2 separate regions of the Homo sapiens genome follow, and region 2 is linked to region 1. The links are contacts of gene promoters, found by promoter capture Hi-C in human tissues and cell types (Jung and others, 2019). All regions are on one chromosome and are shown on one strand. The core of a region is centred on a gene start or on the middle of the fragment in contact, and the rest is flanking DNA. Distances in the headings are between cores, read along the strand shown.

The links. The method cuts DNA at HindIII sites, captures the fragments that hold promoters and counts their contacts. A contact is called where the count stands out against the background at its distance.
Region 2: a fragment that was not itself captured here is called in contact with the fragment with the promoter of CDCA7 in region 1 in 1 of the 25 tissues and cell types used here (thymus).

What each region holds. Positions count from the first base shown.
Region 1 is chr2:173,351,232-173,357,208 of GRCh38, forward strand. It overlaps CDCA7 (cell division cycle associated 7), which reads left to right and starts at 3,641. Exons shown (of 10, transcript NM_031942.5): 1 at 3,641-3,753. The coding sequence starts at 3,733. RefSeq lists enhancers at 2,685-3,640, 2,943-3,032 and a silencer at 3,583-3,852. The HindIII fragment of the contact is 8,581 bases long and covers 922-5,977 here.
Region 2 is chr2:173,027,581-173,032,888 of GRCh38, forward strand. It overlaps RAPGEF4 (Rap guanine nucleotide exchange factor 4), which reads left to right. Exons shown (of 31, transcript NM_007023.4): 26 at 2,584-2,674. Among named protein-coding and RNA genes, the nearest start is that of MAP3K20, 46 kb to the right of the region's middle. The HindIII fragment of the contact is 8,411 bases long and covers 1-5,308 here.

The sequences.
Region 1 (5,977 bases), core at 2,391-4,890:
TCAGCCTACCAAAGTGTTGGGATTACAGGCATGAGCCACCGTGCCCAGCCATGAAATGTATTTCTTAAATAATAAGACTTTAAAGTCAAAATTACTCCCTGGTCCACGGACTGCAGAATGGATGCTGTGTTACCAGGCATGAAAACATTCATCAATCTCCATTAGAGCTCTTGGGTGAATAGGGGCACTGTCAATGAGCAGTAATATTTTGAAAAGAATCTTTTCTTCCGAGCAGGTCTCAAGAGTGGGCTTAAAATATTCAGCAAACTACGCTGTAAACAGATGTGCTCTCATTCAGGCTTTGTTGTTCTGTTTATAGAACACAGGCAGAATAGGTGTCGCATAATTCTTAAGGAATTAAGAACGTGGAATGGTAAATGATCAATGGCTTCAATTTAAGGTTACCAGCTGCATTCATCCCTAACAAGAGAGTCAGGCTGTCCTTTGAAGCTTTAAAGCCAGACATTGACTTCTCTCTAGCTATAAAAGTCCTGGATGGCATCTTCTTCCAACAGAAAGCTGTTTTGTTTACTTTGAATATCTTTTGTTTAGTGTAGCCACCTTCATTAATTAGCTTAGCTAGGTTTTCTGAATAATTTGCTACTTCACCTTGTACTTTCATGTAATAGAGATGGCTTTTTCTCTTAAACCTTGTGAATCTTAAACCTTGTGAATTGACCTCTGCTAGCTTTCAACTTTTCTTCTGCAGTTTCCTCATCTCTCTCAGCCTTCACAGAGTTTGAAGAGAGTTAGGGCTTTACTGTAGATTAGGTTTTAGCTTAAGGGAATGTTGTGGCTGGTTTGATCTTCTCTCCAGACCACTTAAATTTTCTCCCTATCAGCAATAAGCCTGTTTTGCTTTCTTATCGTTCGTGTGTTCTTTGGAGTAGCACTTTTAATTTCCTTCAGGAACTTTTCCTTTGCATTCACAACTTGGTTGTTTGGCACAAGACGTCTAGCTTTCTTCTTATCTCGGCTTTCAACATGCCTTCCTCACTAAGTGTAATCATTTCTAGCTTTTGATTTAAAGTGAGAGATATGTGACTCTTCTTTTCATTTCAATACTCAGAGACCATTGTGGAGTTATTAACTGGCCTAATTTCAATATTGTTCTATCTCAGTGAATAGGGGGGCATGAGGATAGAGAGACAGGATGGTTGGTCAGTGGAGCAATCAGAACACATACAACATTTATTGATGAAGTCTGCCATCTTATATGGGTACAATTTGTGACTCTCCAAAATTATTACAACAGTAATAGCAAAGATCAGATTGCAGATCACCATTATGGATATAAAAATAATGAAAAAGGTGAAATATTGCAAGAATTACCAAAACGTTACACAGAGACACTAAATGAACATGCGCTTTTGGAAAAATGGCACTGATAAGCTTGCTATACTTAGGGTTGCCACAAACCTTTAATTTTAAGCATAGTGCAATAAAATGAGGTACGCCTCTATTCCCAAATTGCTCTGCAAAGTTAAAAATTTACACTACTAACATCATTGTGGGAGTTTCTCATATTCTTAACAATATCTGGTCTTATCAGGCGCTTTAAATTTTGCCAGTCTGAGTGAAATTGTATCTCCTGTGTCAGAGGCATTTGAACTACAGCAACTCCATCTTGAATAGGAGCTGGGCAAAATAAGCCTTGAGACCTGCTGGGCTGCATTCCCAGGAGGTTAAGGCATTCTATGTTACAGGAAGAGGTAGGAGGTCAGCACACGACACAGGTCATAAAGACCTTGCTGATAAAACAGGCTGCAGTAAAGAAGCCAGCCAAAACCAAGATGGCGAGGAGAGTGACCTCTGGTTGTCTTCACTGCTACACTCCCACCAGCGCCATGACAGTTTACAAATGCCATGGCAACATCAGGAAGCTACCCTATATGGCCTAAAAAGGGGAGCCATGAATAATCCACCCCTTGTTTAGCATACAATCAAGAAATAACCATAAAAATGGGCAACCAGCAGCCCTCGGGCTGCTCTATCTACGGTGTAGCCATTCTTTTATTCCTTTACTTTCTTAATAAACTTGCTTTTTCACTTTACGGACTTGCCCTGAATTCTTTCTTGTGCAAGATCCAAGAACCCTCTCTTGGGGTCTAGATCGGGACCCCTTTCCAGTGACACTTGTTTTAATTTGCATTTTCCTGATTACTAAAAAGACGAATAGACCAGAGATCTTATCCTTAAAAAACACATACACCAAATTATTTTCTTGTGCTCCCAGGAAGACTAAAAATTTCCCTATCAGAACCTTTCACAGGCAAAGTGACTTAATCTTCCCCTGCTTCATGGATCTAGTAATTCCAAATTTTCATATATTTAGCTTTAGTGGCACAAAATTATATTCCCAAATGTTTATTCATTCAACAAATACTTACTGAGGGCCCTGTAATTCCGTAATTTCACCACCCACCGATAGCCTCTCCTCCTGGCACTCACCTTCTAGACCTTGAGCTCTTTGTCCCTTGCACAGTGGCAGAGTGATTACTGGGTAGGTATATTTAAGAAAGGCTGGAAGACTCCTTCCAATCCATTGTCCTCGGGCATTATTTACTTGCTCACAGTTTTTGTATTCAGTACACCAAGAGAGGAACACAGTATGTCCATGCACTCTCTTACTGCAAAGGAATTAATTATTCCCCAGAGAAAAGTTTTGAAATGAGGGGGAAATGCGAATGTTTTCATTTCAAGCGCTTGTTTTAAATGTTAAGAGTATAATTAGTGTCTTCTAAAGAAACTAAATTTACTTTTTCTTGTAGAAGCAAGTTTTGCTCTTCACGCACACAAAAAGCCTCGCTTTATTTCATTTTTTCGTTGTAATGCCAAGTTTGGTTAAAAGGGCAATGAAAAGTTTTCTCGTTCGCACTGACTCAGGGTAGTTCTCAATTCTGAAGACAGAGAAGATCATCAAGCCACAATTGTTCAATCTTTAGTTTCAATCCCCAACAGATAATCGTTAAAGGTTAACTATACTATAGACGTCTTCATCAAGCTGCTGCGGCTTTTCTTCTACTTTGAAAACCACAAGTAAACAAGTCGGCTTCCTGTGCTTTTTGGAAAGAAAGATCAGGATTTAACTCATTTTATTGCTTCAGATAATGGTGTGGTTCCCAGATAAGAGGTGCTACATCCAGGGGCGGTGAACTCGATTATGAAGGGTGGAGTTCGTGCTGGATTCTATGATTTTTTAAATCTTGTAAACCGCACGCAGCAATGAAAGTGCTAAACGCCATGGTGCGTGACCCGCGCCACCCTCACGCTGCTCTCCTTTACCCCCCAGACTCCACTTTTCCTCCGCCACCACGAAAATTCTTGCAAATCAGACAGCTAACCCCGGGGCAATACGAACCATTTTCGCGCCACTCGCTCAGGACCGCGCAGCTGCACAAGGAGAGTGGTCCCCGTAGCCCCTAAAGCCCCCCTTTCTCAAAGGGGATTTTAGGAGTGCCCAAGGCTATCCTTTGAGGTCAGAATATATAGGGGGGTCGTGTTTTTTCCAGGGGGCCACCTAGTCTTGCGCCATGTCTGGCCGTTACCACAGCTTGCAGGACCTGTGTCCCAACGCGGGAAAGACAGCCCGAGCCCCGCCCCTCCGGGCCCGGGTCGGCGCGCCCAGCCTGCCAGCCGCGCTGCTGCTGCTCCTCCTGCTGTGGGACCGCTGACCGCGCGGCTGCTCCGCTCTCCCCGCTCCAAGCGCCGATCTGGGCACCCGCCACCAGCATGGACGCTCGCCGCGTGCCGGTGAGGGCTGGGCGGGCGAACCCGAGGGGCGGGCGCGGTGGGTGCTGGACGCAGGCGGGCGCGGGCCGACCCTCTCCAACTCCGCAGCCTAGCGCTGCCTTAACTGGTGGCCTGCCTAGGCGTTGCCCGCTTGGGCAAGCCCCTGATTTTGTGCACCTGGGATAACTGAGGGCCATGGGGACGTTCCTGCGTGGCGTGCGCACCCGAAGTGCGGGCGGCGTGGAGACTTGAGTCGTTTGCAGGATGGCTAGCAGCGCTGGAAAGCCCTAGGCACGTGCGTCCGCCAAAGGCCGGACAGCGGCCGGGAGCGCTGGCCGGTCCCGATTTTGCCTGCCAGGCAGAGCCAGCCTGCCTGCCCCCTGGGAGGTTGTCCCGCAGCGGCCCAGCCCTTTCCCGCACACAACTCGGAGCCAGTGCGTGGCTCGCCGCGTCTATACCCGCGCTCAGTGGGTGGCCCTTGGGCGCGCACCCCGCCCGGCAAGAGACGCGTCCGCTTCTAACCGCTGAGGGCCAGCGCGTCTGAGGTTTAAGGTCTTGCGAACCGGTCTCCTAGAACTTGGGCTGCGCACGCAGTGTGAAGCGACCGTAGTCCCGGGCGGTGGTTAAGTGCATTTAAAGGGCTTGGTGGGTCAAAGCGTTCGCCGACCATTTGCTCGTTTCCTACTTCCTCCACCCCAACCCCCAACCCCCCACCCCCCACCCCCCAGCCTTACTCTTAGCTGCAGGACGTTGCTCTGAGTGGAACGTTACTTTTTGCTCTAACGGAAGCCAGAACGTAGGGTCGGGCTCCTGGAGAGGGTAGAAGAGTGGGGGTTGGGTGAAACGGAAGACAATGACATGTTTAAAATAAATATCAGGGGTTAGGGACCCTCGCGGGGGTGGGTGCGATGGGGCGTGGTTTCAGAGCTGAGTCGCCGCCCCGGTGGAGCTGGGCATTGGCTTTCCGGATGAAGAAAACCATGTGTAGCTGGTCTTGGAACCTGACATGCCTGAGTTCAAATCTGAGCCACCATGGGACTTGAGTAATCCATTTCGCTTTCCTGAGCCTCAGTTTCCTCATTGGCTAAGTGAGAATAACGATAGCACCTTTGTTGCAAAGAATTAAACCTGACGTGAAAGTGTACTTAACATAGTGCCTGGCACGAAAAACGCCTACTATAAATGGTATTAGTTATTACTTACCTGCCAAAGAAGTTCATCTCCGTCTTGACTATTTGCCTTGCTGCTTTTTTGTGGCTTTTCCTCCAAAGATACGTTTGCCTGGTAAATAACTCTTGGCTTGTGCTGACTTGTTAAAGCTCAGCCTGTATTTCTCGGACAGCTTCCAATAGAATGCCGCCTTTGAGGCTGTCTGGGGCCTCTGACTGCTTGCAGGTAGATTGATGAGTAAAGGGTGGTAATTCCTGCAGTAATGCGATGAACACTGCTGCTTAAGAAGATGGCAGACTTGAGTTCTCCTTCCTGCCCCTGTGATCTTGCAGTCTATTACACCTTCCTGGGGCCTTGAATATCCTCATCTGGAAAATGGGATCTGAGATCCTTTTCAGCTCCCAACATTCATTGTGTCCCAGGCTGGAGTGCAGTGGCACAGTCACGGCTCACTGCAGCCTACCGGGCTCAAGCAGTCTTCCCACCTCAGCCTCCCAAGTAACTGGGATTACATGTACGCACCGCCACATCCGGCTGATTTTTGTGTTTTTAGTAGAGACGGGGTTTCACCATATTCCCCACGCTGGTCTCGAACTCGTGGGCTCAAGTGATCCTCCCACCTTGGCTTCCCAAAGCGCTGAGATTACAGGTGTGAGCCACCCCCCTACACATACACCTAACCTTTATATTTAGTAGCTCTACCTTTTACACGTTGTCCTGCCTTGTTAAGAGGGCAAAAGACAAAAACTTCCTAAGATGATTGAACGGAGTTTACTTAGGGGTATAGGGATGTTGGGAGTGCCATCATCATGAAAATAACTTTATCTGCAAGAGACTGAAATGCGTAATGTTAGGCCAAGAAGGAGGGCAAGAATGTTCTGGTCACCTGACATCTTACATCTTAGCATATTTTGTAGAATCTATACCAGAGCTTGCCCTTTCAAAGTTTTCAGTGTAAGGAATCACTTCTGCTATTCCATGGCCCCATTTAAGGAATAAAAACACAGGACCTAATGCAACACTTAGGAAATCTCGTTAAATATTAAGAAATGACAAACCACTATCCTTTTTTTAT
Region 2 (5,308 bases), core at 1,124-3,623, 320 kb before region 1:
GAAAGTTCAGTTGAAAAGATCTTGAAGTCAATGTCCAGCATGACACATTCTCACCAGTAGAGGGCAGTGCAGCATGCATGTACAGCAGCACATCCAGCCCAGACAGAATTAAATCGGTAAAATGCATGCGAGCTAACCTGGTACATGAAAATCATCACTACAAACATCAGAAAAAGAAGCATCTATCTTATAAATATTCTATTAAACAGCACTTCATGGGAAACAATTTTTTTACTACAGGGGCCAGTTAGAGTTCTCCCTGACATGAATTTAATCTTCTCCTGCTATTTAGATATGCCTGACAACCTCCTGTTTACTTCCATGTTTTTGGTATCACCACAGTGCTAAAAATAAAATGCTAAATGTGGCCTATGGCTGTGAGACTTCTTTCCTTTCTAAATGCAGGGAGCTCTAGCACACAGGAAGGCTGAGAGCACAAGTGACCCCAGCTAGACAATTTTCTTGACCCAAAATCAAACATGGAGTTTGATTTCCTGGGCTAAACAAAGAAGTAAAGGCTGCTTGACATTTTATAGATATCAGTTTGCCAGATGCCTGGAATTATTTGCCAACAACTTGAGGGTTCAATAGAATACCAAATCCCTTGGATTCAAAAGCTGCTATCTGTTAATATGGCAAAGCTGGCTATTTTAAGAAAGGCTTGGTAAAATGGTGCCTGTGAATTTCTGGTTCAGAGTATAGCCACTTCCCTGGTAGTCTGCACAGCCTTATGGCAAGGGACAAATGCCTTCACATATTTGGAATGAGCTGATTATGGAAACTATGACAAGATGTGCTTTCCCGTTAGAAGAAGCACACTCTCTCTCTTCACCTTAGCCTGGCAGTGCCCAATGCAACAAGAAGAGAGAGGCAATCTGCACACAAATGTGGGAAGCCAGAAAATCTTTTGGGGCCTGATCCTGTTATTTTACAGAGGCAACATGGGAGAGCCTTTCAGAACACCCAGGACTTTTTTTTATATATATATATTTTTGCTTTTCTTATCCCTCTCCCTTCTGTTTAGGTGAATGAGTAGGTGGACTTGGCCTTCAGTATAAATTAGTTTATGTTATTTAACCATTATTAAGCCCTGTGCTACATTTGCCGTCCTGTAGAGAAGCTATTTACACAGCCCAGCTGAAGAAGACTGTAGACTTTTTAAATCCGAGATCTACAAGAATGAGGTTGAAACCTCGTGACAGTAGCATCTGTTTTACTTTATATTTTTAGAGAACTTCAACATATTTGTTTTAAGCTCTTTGCCTGCCCAGAACTGTGTGAAGTTGGTGGAAGCAGATGTTCTTATTCCTCTGTTTACATTCGTGGAGGCATAGAGAAATTTCATGACTTACATAGGGTAATAAAGTTAGCTGATAACAAGGCAGTGACTAGAAAGGCAGGTCTACAGCCCTGCATTTGTTCTTTCAAGATCACATAAAGGACAGAGGCAAACACATAGATGCGATTGTATACCTGCCTTTAGCCCCAGGTGTCTTCTAAATAACCTTCAGCTCCTGAACTCAGACCCATTGTCCCAGCACACCAAAGGCCTCACTTGCTTTCTCACCAGTGGGACCATACACACTAGCTTCTCTGAAATATGTTCTCCATCTCCACACAGACAATTTAAGAATTACTCTTTGCTACCTTTGCAATGGGTAGCAAATGCAACAATTTAGTCTTTTTCAAAAATGTTAATCCAAACAGGATTTCATTATGATATGGTCAATTTCGATAACCATATTGATTCAGGATGAAGGATTTATGCGTATTGCAAAATGAATTCTTTCCCTTTTCAGGGACCTGGTATGAAGAAGTTTGGGGTTTCTCTTTCTAAAAAATGGTTAAACCAAGTACCTGTGTTAAACATCACCATTCTAATAAGAATTTCTGTTTTTTTCCACATGTCTCATTCCCAAACATATATTCATAAAAGCTAATAATGGCGTAAGTACAGATTCAAAATGATCAGCTTCATTGATGTCAGTAAAACACAGAGAAGGTTATTTCTTGGTCAGTTGTTTAGGTTACTTCTCAGCTTTAAAATTCCTTGAGATTGAGTGCCCAGCCTATAGAGATCACACCTTATAAGTTGATATTTTTCAACAAACAAGTAGCATTTGCATGGCAGGTAGAAGCCATGGTGGCTGCAGCTGTGAGACTCCCTTAGTGCCCTCTCAAGCTGCCAGAGGAGGATATCCACCTTCAGGCTAAAGGTCTAGAAATCTCCAAGGGCACTTCACTTTTTTTCTTACCCCATGAGATATTTCCCTCTCGGTCCAACAAGGCTTTTAGCAAGTTTGGGATTATAATAACAACCCCTAAGGTAGGTGTCTTTAAGTTCCTTCTCAGATCCCAAACCTCAATGGCTAACGTCTTCAACTTTCTAAAAACACAGTGAGAAATCAAACAGCAGAACATGGTCACCCAAGTGGAACTTTTACAGTACATTAAATCTATCATTGCCTGTTCTCATAAATGAGCCCTGACAAATATTAATGACTATCAGAAAATAGAACTCTAATTTTTTTTATCTCACACAGAAGTAACATTTTACTCAAACACGCATCTCCTGTGTTTCAGCTGTAAGGAGTATAAAAATCTGAATTCCTTTTTTGCCATCGTCATGGGACTAAGTAACGTTGCTGTGAGCCGCTTGGCACTAACGTGGGAGGTAAGCTTCAGCTAGGATCCAGCTGTGACTTTTGCCTTAGGAATAAAAACACAGGCTCACCAGTGAGCTTTTTAATAGAAATATCACTCACACTAGTATAACAATGGGAAAGGTGGGACACTTGGAGGGAGGTGACCTGTCTCCTTTTTCCAGTTGCCTCAGAGGGAGAATTTTTAAAAGATATTGTCCTTTTGTGTATGGAGAGTGGGGGAGATGAGGAGATGTCTACTTCTTGATATATGCAATGTAAATAAAAATAAGTCCAGTTCCTAAGTATAACATGAAGGACCCACATTGCTGGGAATGACTTCATAAGTTTGCTCATAGATTGTATTGTTTTCTGAAATGTCTGCTTGTTGCTTTTGCCATAAATCTTATCTTTAATTGAAAGAGGACAGAAGATCCATTTTTATCCAAGTACTCATTTTGCTTCTGGAAGGAAGAGCCAGGAAGCCAACTGTTTGCAGCAGTTGAGTACTAAGTGTCGCCTCACCACCTGGCAGACTTCTCTCCACGGAGAGGAACAACAGTTGGCTAATATTCAGTTTGGGGCAAAAGTGAGGCAGGTGTGTTGTGAGTCTCTGTAGCAAATATAATGAATGGTTTGTCGAGAGTTGGGTATTCAAGCTAGAAAACATCTTCATTTATTATTAGCTTTGTACTCAAAATGTGCTTGACCTCTTACACGTGGCATATAGTTGAAGAAATACTAATCTCTAATAGAACATACATACAGAAATAGACTCATGCTAAAAATAAAAAATTGTGTGTAAGTGGGACACAGAAAGAGGGCAAGGAGTATGTATTAGAGACCCAACTTGCAATGGTGCTTAAAGGCAGCTGTTTGCATCTCTAAATGCTTTTCTGAAATTATTTTCTTCCCCATGTCCTTCTTGCAATGATTTTCTTTTTCCGTCCCTCCTAAATGTTTCCATTGTTTGTAGGGCAGGTCCTCACAAGTCCTTCTGTCTTGGGTTTCTCTTAAAATTCCAGGCAGATGCAGCACACAGCAGCTCATCCCCTGAATATAGGAATGAGGGAATTGGTGAGGCCTGCGTGCCATGCAGCTATATCATCTTCCAGCTAGTAAAAGGACGGAGCTCGTGCTGCCAAGAGATCTAAGCACAAAGCCATAATGCAACTCCCTCGTCTTATAGTCCAAGGCTCTTGGGATTGCTGGAGACCTAGGGTCCTCCTGCAAAGAGTCTGCCTTCCCCAGTCAGCTACCAGCTTCTAATCCCCCTGCCACAGAGTCCAAATTAGTTGGTTGGGGACATTTTAAAAAACCATAAAGCCTCAAAGGGTCCAAGGAGGCCAGGTGTGGGTACCACAGATCAGCCAGACAATAAGAACAGAGCATGTGGGAAACACTCTCTGAACCCTCTTTCCCAGTCTAAATAAAAAAGTAGGAGGCTGCTGAAGAGGGTGCAGGCAGCAAAAGGAGATAGCTAACTGGCCAGTCCTTTGGTTTCACTAGGGATGGGAGTTCTGTGAGTCTATGAGCTTCTGTTTTCAGCACTGAATGTTGCTGAAAAGAGGAAATTATCCTTTCATCATTTATAAGCCTTTGTTTTTTAAGGTGAAGTATAATTATATAATTCTGTATGGGAGATTTCATTCCTAAGCACCTTTGATTCTAGTTTATGTACCTGCACTTGCCGAGAAAACCTCCCAAAAGCCTCCCATGCAACTCCATTGAGCACCACAGTGACCACAAGAGCAGTGTGAGAAATGCTGCCTGGCCTCATGGAACTAGGGGACACGTGTGGAACAGCCACGGAATAAAATAGAAAGGAAAGCCAGAGCACACAATAAAGGGAAGGGTTCAAAACTGAGGGGGAAGATCAAGCTGAGATGAAGCAAATGAGAATTACCTGGAGCACACACACTCTCTCAGCCTCAGCACTGGTGACATCTGGAGCAGAACAGTTCTTGGTCGTGGAGACGTCTTCTCTGTTGCAGGACAATTAGGAGCATCCCTGGCCTCTCCCCACCAGATGCTGGAAGCACCTCTTACCATGCCCCACCCCGGCTGTGACAACAAAAAAATGTCTGCACACATTACCAAATGCCTCCTGGATTGGCAGGATGGCCCTATTGAAAACACTGCTCTAGAAGCATGGGGGGGTGGATAAATAATAGTATTAAGAATGAAAGAAACATTTTTTATTACCCTGTGCCCTACTGTCTTTGACCTAAAAGAAAGCTAAGTAAAGAAAGAGAACAGATGACAGAGGTCTTGCCAAAAACATAATCCACTCTTATTTTTTTAAATGGACTAAATTCAGTAAGTCAATGTTTTTGCATAACTTGGTGATCTGGATACTCTGTGTGGGGTGAGATCCTGGCATCCCTTGATGCCCATCCCAGCTTTCAGCCCTTTGAATAGTCTCCCCTAAGTGAGGGCATCAAGTCTTCCTGAACCCTAACTTGAAATGCCAGAAAAATGAGTTTGGAGGATATACAGGGACTAGTTTTTAGAAACAAAATCGGGGTTTTACAGATGTTTAAATGGGAATATGACAAACTGAGATAGGAAAGAGAAAGAGCCAAGAAGAGCCATTCTGTGGATTGCAGAGGCCCAATTGGTGAATCAACTGTTGAAGGTAGGCTTCACTGTTCAAAGCCTCCTCC